Regions from separate parts of the Homo sapiens genome. Here region 1 is linked to region 2. Evidence: promoter capture Hi-C in human tissues and cell types (Jung and others, 2019). All regions are on one chromosome and are shown on one strand. The core of a region is centred on a gene start or on the middle of the fragment in contact, and the rest is flanking DNA. Distances in the headings are between cores, read along the strand shown.

Evidence for each region. Contacts are between HindIII fragments. The study calls those that stand out against the background at their distance.
Region 1: a fragment that was not itself captured here is called in contact with the fragment with the promoter of WNT10A in region 2 in 1 of the 25 tissues and cell types used here (spleen).

The regions. Positions count from the first base shown.
Region 1 is chr2:218,245,835-218,249,003 of GRCh38, forward strand. The region is part of intron 8 of ARPC2 (actin related protein 2/3 complex subunit 2); the gene reads left to right. It overlaps TRY-ATA1-1 (tRNA-Tyr (anticodon ATA) 1-1), which reads left to right; the gene lies at 1-84. Among named protein-coding and RNA genes, the nearest start is that of TRY-ATA1-1, 1.6 kb to the left of the region's middle. The HindIII fragment of the contact is 7,344 bases long and covers 1-3,169 here.
Region 2 is chr2:218,879,354-218,882,183 of GRCh38, forward strand. WNT10A (Wnt family member 10A) reads left to right here and starts at 1,499. Exons shown (of 4, transcript NM_025216.3): 1 at 1,499-1,755; 2 at 2,808-2,830. The coding sequence starts at 1,643. RefSeq lists silencers at 925-984, 1,205-1,414, 1,435-1,574. The HindIII fragment of the contact is 13,021 bases long and covers 1-2,830 here.

The DNA of each region.
Region 1 (3,169 bases), core at 323-2,822, 630 kb before region 2:
GTTCAGCTGGTAGAGCAGAGGACTATAGCTACTTCCTCAGTAGGAGACGTCCTTAGGTTGCTGGTTCGATTCCAGCTTGAAGGAGACAAGTACAGTTTTGGCTGGGCACGGTGGTTCATGGCTGTAATCACAGCACTTTGGGAGGTTAAGGCAGGTGGATCACGAGGTCAGGAGATCAAGATCATCCTGGCCAATGTGGTGAAACTCTGTCTCTACTAAAATACAAAAAAAAATTAGCTGGGCATGGTGGCGCACGTCTGTAGTCCCAGGTACTCCAGAGGCTGAGGCAGGAGAATTGCTTGAACCCGGGAGGTGGAGGTTGTAATGAGCTGAGATCGTGCCACTGGACTCCAGCCTGGGCAACAGAACAAGACTCTTGTCTCCAAAAAAAAAAAAAAAGAGTTGAGGCTGGGTGCGGTGTCTCACGCCTGTAATCCTAGCACTGTGGGAGGCCAACATGGGCAGATCACCTGAGGTCAGGAGTTCGAGACCAGCCTGACCAACATGGTGAAACACTCCGTCTCTACCAAAAAAATAACAAAGAAATTAGCTGGGCGTGGTGGTGTGCGCCTGTAATCCCAGCTACTCGGGAGGCTGAGGCACAAGAATCCCTTGGACCCAGGAGGCGGAGGTTGCAGTGAGCTGAGATCACACCATTGCACTCCAGCCTGGATGACAGAGTGAGACCTTGTCTCAAAAAGAAAAAAGAAAAGAGTAAAGGATAGGCGGGGCACAGTGGCTCATACCTGTAATCCCAGCACTTTGGGAGTCCGAGGTTGGTGGGTCACTTGGGTCCAGGAGTTTGGGACCAGCCTGGATAACATGGTGCAGGCTCATCTCTACAAAAAGCAAGGGGCCAGGCACAGTGGCTCACACCTGTAATCCCAGCACTTTAAGAGGCCAAGGCGAGCAGATCACTTGAGGTCAGAAGTTCGAGACCAACCTGGCCAACATGGTGAAACCACACCTCTACTAAAAATACAAAAATTAGTTGGACATGGTGACATGTGCCTATAGTCTATAGTCCCAGCTACTCGGGCAAGCGAGGCATGGCAATTGCTTAAACCCAGAAAGTGGAGGTTGCAGCAAGCCGAGATCATCCTGCTGCGCTCCAGCCTGGGAGACTGTCTCAAAAAAAAAGATAACTAGGCATGGTGGTGCATGACTGTAGTCATAGCTACTTGAGAGGCTGAGGTGAGAGGATCACTTGAACCCAGGAGGTAGAGGCTGCAGTGAGCTGTGATGGCACCACTACACTCCAGCCTGGGTGGCAGAGTGAGACCCTATCTCACCAAAAAAAGGAGTTAAGAAGAGAACCACCTAAGCAGCTAGATGGGGGTTCTCTGTCATTTGGCAATTCTTGGTTTTTTGCTTATTAAGCCCAAGCTCCAGCCGTGATCCACTTACTCCACTTTTTCGCGGAATAAATTCAGGTCTTCCTTCAGTTGCTCCAGCCTCATGCACTGGCTGATTATGATAGCTTACAGTTTGGAATTAATAAGCTTGTTCACACTGCACCCAATGCCACTGGAATGTCTCCTTTGTGAAATGTAATTTAATTCACCTCAGTGGTAAAGGTGAACCTGTTTATTGGTGATGAATCTGTTGATTTACCAAATTTCATTAAATCTAAACTATACACTTTTTTCTTTTTTCTTTCTCTCTGTCACCCAGGCTGGAGTGCAGTGGTGTGATCTCGGCTCACTGCAACCTCTGCTTCCCAGGCTCAAACAATTCTCGTGCCTCAGCTTCCCAGGTAGCTGGGACCACAGGCGTGTGCCACCACACCCGGCTAATTTTTGTATTTTCAGTAGAAACAGGGTTTCCAGCTGGGCACGGTGGCTCACGCCTGTAATCCCAGCACTTTGGGAGGCCGAGGCAAGTGGATCACGATGTCAGGAGATCGAGACCATCCTGGCTAACACAGTGAAACCCCATCTCTACAAAAAATACAAAAACTTAGCTGGGCGTGGTGGTGGGTGCCTGTAGTCCCAGCTACCCTGAAGGCTGAGGCAGGAGAATGGCGTGAACCTGGGAGGCGGAGCTTGCAATAGGCCAAGATCACGCGACTGCACTCCAGCCTGGGCGACAGAACAAGACTCCGTCTCAAAAAAAATTAAAAAAAAAAAAAAGAAACAGGGTTTCCATGTTGGCCAGGCTGATCTCAACTCCTGGCCTCAAGCAATCCACTCACTTCAGCCTCCCAAAGTGCTGGGATTACAGGCGTGTGCCACTGCGCCCAGCCAGCTATACCATTTTTTTCAAGTTTTTGTCTTTGAAGCTGGGATGCATCTTACAATTCATAGCATGTCACACTTTAATTGGCAGCATGTTTCTCTTGTGGTACATAAAATTATGGCAGACTTACAGTCATAAGCACCTTAGATTCTTTGAAGTATAGTTGTCTTCTGTTGTGGTGTTCATTTACTTTCAGGCCAGGGCACATTGACACAGAAATTCCACACTTCCTTAGGAGGCATTCCTTTTCATTTCAACGAAAACTTCAGACAACTGACGGGGTTTTGCAGATAGTGAGTAGAGGAGGTGCAGCAGGTAAAAACGATTCCAGAAAACCAGGGCAAGAGGGGCATGCAGGCCTGCTGTAGTGCAAAGGACTTTGTGATGAGCACACAGGTCTTTTTTTGAGATGGAGTCTTGCTCTGTCACTCAGGCTGGAGTGCAGTGGCACCGTCTTGGCTCACTGCAACCTCCACCCCCCGGGTTTAAGCGATTCTCCTGCCTCAGCCTCCTAAGTAGCTGAGATTACAGGCACACGCCATCACATGTGGCTAATTTTTATATTTTTAGTAGAGATGGGGTTTCACCATGTTGGCCAGGCTGGTCTCAAAACTCCTGATCTCAGATGATCAGCCTGCGTCAGCCTCCCAAAGTGCTGGGATTACAGGCGTGAGCCATCGCGCCCAGCCTCACACAGGTCTTTAGGTGGCTGGTGTCACAGGGTGGACTTCAGTCAGGCCCATTCAGAGCAGCTCCTCCTGCCTGGCCTATCATGAGGGTTCAGGTCCTTACACCTTATTGTCTGTTTTCACAGTGAGAATATGGGAAATTCTCTGGCATCTGTTTTCTGGGAAGGTTTACTCTATTTCAGCACCAAGGACCTAAGACAGGCAGCTGCATTTCCTAATCCTGATTCCTTAAAGTAAACTGT
Region 2 (2,830 bases), core at 249-2,748:
GGGGCATGTTTGTGTAAAGGCTTGTGCCCATTTTACAGAGGAGGATGCCGAGGGCACAGGGCAGGAGCACGATCCACTATCAGGGCCCAGGCTAGCACCAGAAACAGACGGCAGAGCTGCCTTTCCCCTGCCCTCTGGCTCTCAGGCCCTTGCTTGGGCCCAGCACACTTGCACTATATCGAGGAGGGGCCCAGTGTTCAGTTGGGGTGGAGGGACAGGAAGATCTCAGCGAGAAGTAGACCTGAGCCAGGAGGCTGGTATTAGGGACCTCCTAGAGGACCATGTGCAGGTGGGGCCAGGGAGGGCCAGGACAAGACTGAGAGTATCTGCGGGCACAGGCAGGCAACACTCAGTGTTGGGGAGGCAGCTGCTGCGCTGGGAGTCAGGAGAGCTGCGTTCGGTTCTCGCTCTTCCGCTAATTTGCTGTGTGACCTCTTTGAGCCTCGATATTTTCTTGTGAAATAAAGGGGAGCTAAATAAACTATCTCAACGGCCACTTCTAGGGTTAAAAGTCTCTCTAACGCCTCCTCCCAGGACGTGCCACCCCGGGCGCTCCTACGCAAGCATTTTCTGGGGGCCTGACACTGCTGCCTCCCCGGGCTCACTGAGGAGACAAGGTGGTCCCCATGAGCCGCATTCCGCAAAGGGGCAGAGGAGGTCTCCGTGAGCAGGAGCAGGAGGCACCTGTTTAAGGTCACACAGCAAAGGGGAGAAGAAACCAGAGGCTGCCAAACTCCTCTGCAGGAGCCCACACCTGCCTCACACCAGGCAGGCCTGGGGGAAGTCCCTCCTCTGGCGGAGGAGGCGAAACACAGAGGCCAGCCCCTCCCCTCCAGCCCCTGCAGGTGTGTGTGTTGGGGTGGGATGGGGGCGCTCCCCAGCAGCTGCGTCTCTGCCAGGCACACACACCTCGCGGTAACACATATCCCCCACACAACCCAGCGCGCTCCACACACAGGCATCTTCCTGTGCACGCGCGCACAGACCCCAACACCTTTCCCTCTGTTGCCCTCAGCAGGGACGCTCCCACCCCCAGTCCCCAGCGGACGCAGTGGCCTCGGGACTCGTACACGCCTCCACGCCCCGCCGCGTGACGTCACGTGGGGTAGAGCCCTGAGACACTAAATGGCGGGGGGGTGGGGGGAGGAAAGGGAAGGCGGCAGAGCTCCCCGAGCCGGGACAGTCACTTACTCTACAGGCAGTGGGGCCCGACACAGACAGCGCCGCCCCCGCCAGCCAGCCTCGCACGCCCTCGGAAGCGCAGGCTCCCGGCGCTGCGCTGGAGGGTTCCCCGGCACCCCAGCCTCCCGTCCCCAGCCCGCTGCACCTCCGGGCCCCCCTTACCCTTGAGAGGCACCGGGAGTTGTCGCGGGGGGGCCTCGGGAAATTCCCCGGACCCCTGTGCCAGGAGGTGCCCGGTTCGCCCGCTCTTCACCCCCCGCCCCCCCCGAGGGCGGTGCCCGGGGGTGCTGCCCCATGGAGCGGGGAGGCGGGCGCCGTCTGCTCCGGGAGCCCTGACCCGAGTCGGAGCTGTGTGTCGCAGCCGCCCCGACCCCCCGCCGATCATGCGCCGGCGCCCCTGGCTCTCCAGTCCCACTGGGCTGTGAGCCCCCCACTCCCAGCCCGTCAGGGCCTGCGCGCCATGGGCAGCGCCCACCCTCGCCCCTGGCTGCGGCTCCGACCCCAGCCCCAGCCGCGGCCAGCGCTCTGGGTGCTCCTGTTCTTCCTACTGCTGCTGGCTGCTGCCATGCCCAGGTGAGCCCTCACCTCATGCTCCGCCCTCCTAGAGAGTTGGGACCCCGGCCTGCAGGGGCCTCTGATGCTCTTGCTGGGGTAGAGGACCCTGGAAGAAGGGAGGGACAGGGTCATAGGAAAGTGCTGGTGCCCAACCAAAGGCAGTGAGCTCCCTCATAGGAGGGGGTTGGACTGGTGACAGGATATGGGCAGTCCAGGGAGACAAGGCAGTGCCCAGGAGCATGATGGCAACTAGGAGGGGAGGTGTGTGTGGGGGGGGAGCAAGTGCCAGTCTGGAGTTCCTGCCCTGTTGGGGGAATGCACCCCCACCTCAGGAGTAAGCACAAGCTGCCTCACTCCTTCCTGCAGCTCAGCCCCAGGTAGGGGCAGGGGTTGGGAGGCTGGAAGGGGGTAGCCCAGGTGGGGTCAGTGAGAGACTGCAGCTGCAAGAGCTGTGTGTGTGTGTGTGTGTGTGTGTGTGTTTTCAATCGAGCCCAGGATCCCAGCAAACTGTGTTGGTAAACAGTAGTTTGTATGTGTGCCCATGTGTGCATGTGAGAGCTCATGGGTCAATGTATGTTAAGATGAACACATGTGTAAATGGGAGTGTCTTTGTGTGTGTGTCTGTAACTATGTCTGATGAAGTGTGCATGTGCGTAAGTGTGCTGGGGTTGGGTTTGTGTGTCCACCACAATGTGTGCAGAAGTGTGTCTATGTGAATGTGACTGAAACATATCTGTGGGAGTGGGCTTGTGGGGAACCCTGTGTGTATGGGCATCTATTCCTGGGGATGTGCATAGGAAATACTGTGGCCACAAGCATGGTGGATGTGTGTGCATTTGCACGCTTACCTGTGTGGGTGTGCAGCTAGCTGAGTGAGTTGCACTGGGCAGGATGATTGTGAGGAGGTCAAGGAGAGAGGAATGTGTAGGAGTGTACTGATGGGCCCAACCTTCAGAAGCAGAGGTTGGAAGAGGGAGTGATTATGGCCGTTGGGACAGAGTGTGTGTTGTTAGATGGGGCTCTCCTGGTCCCCCCAAAACACGTACCCACTCCACCCCATATGTCTGCAGGTCAGCACCCAATGACATTCTGG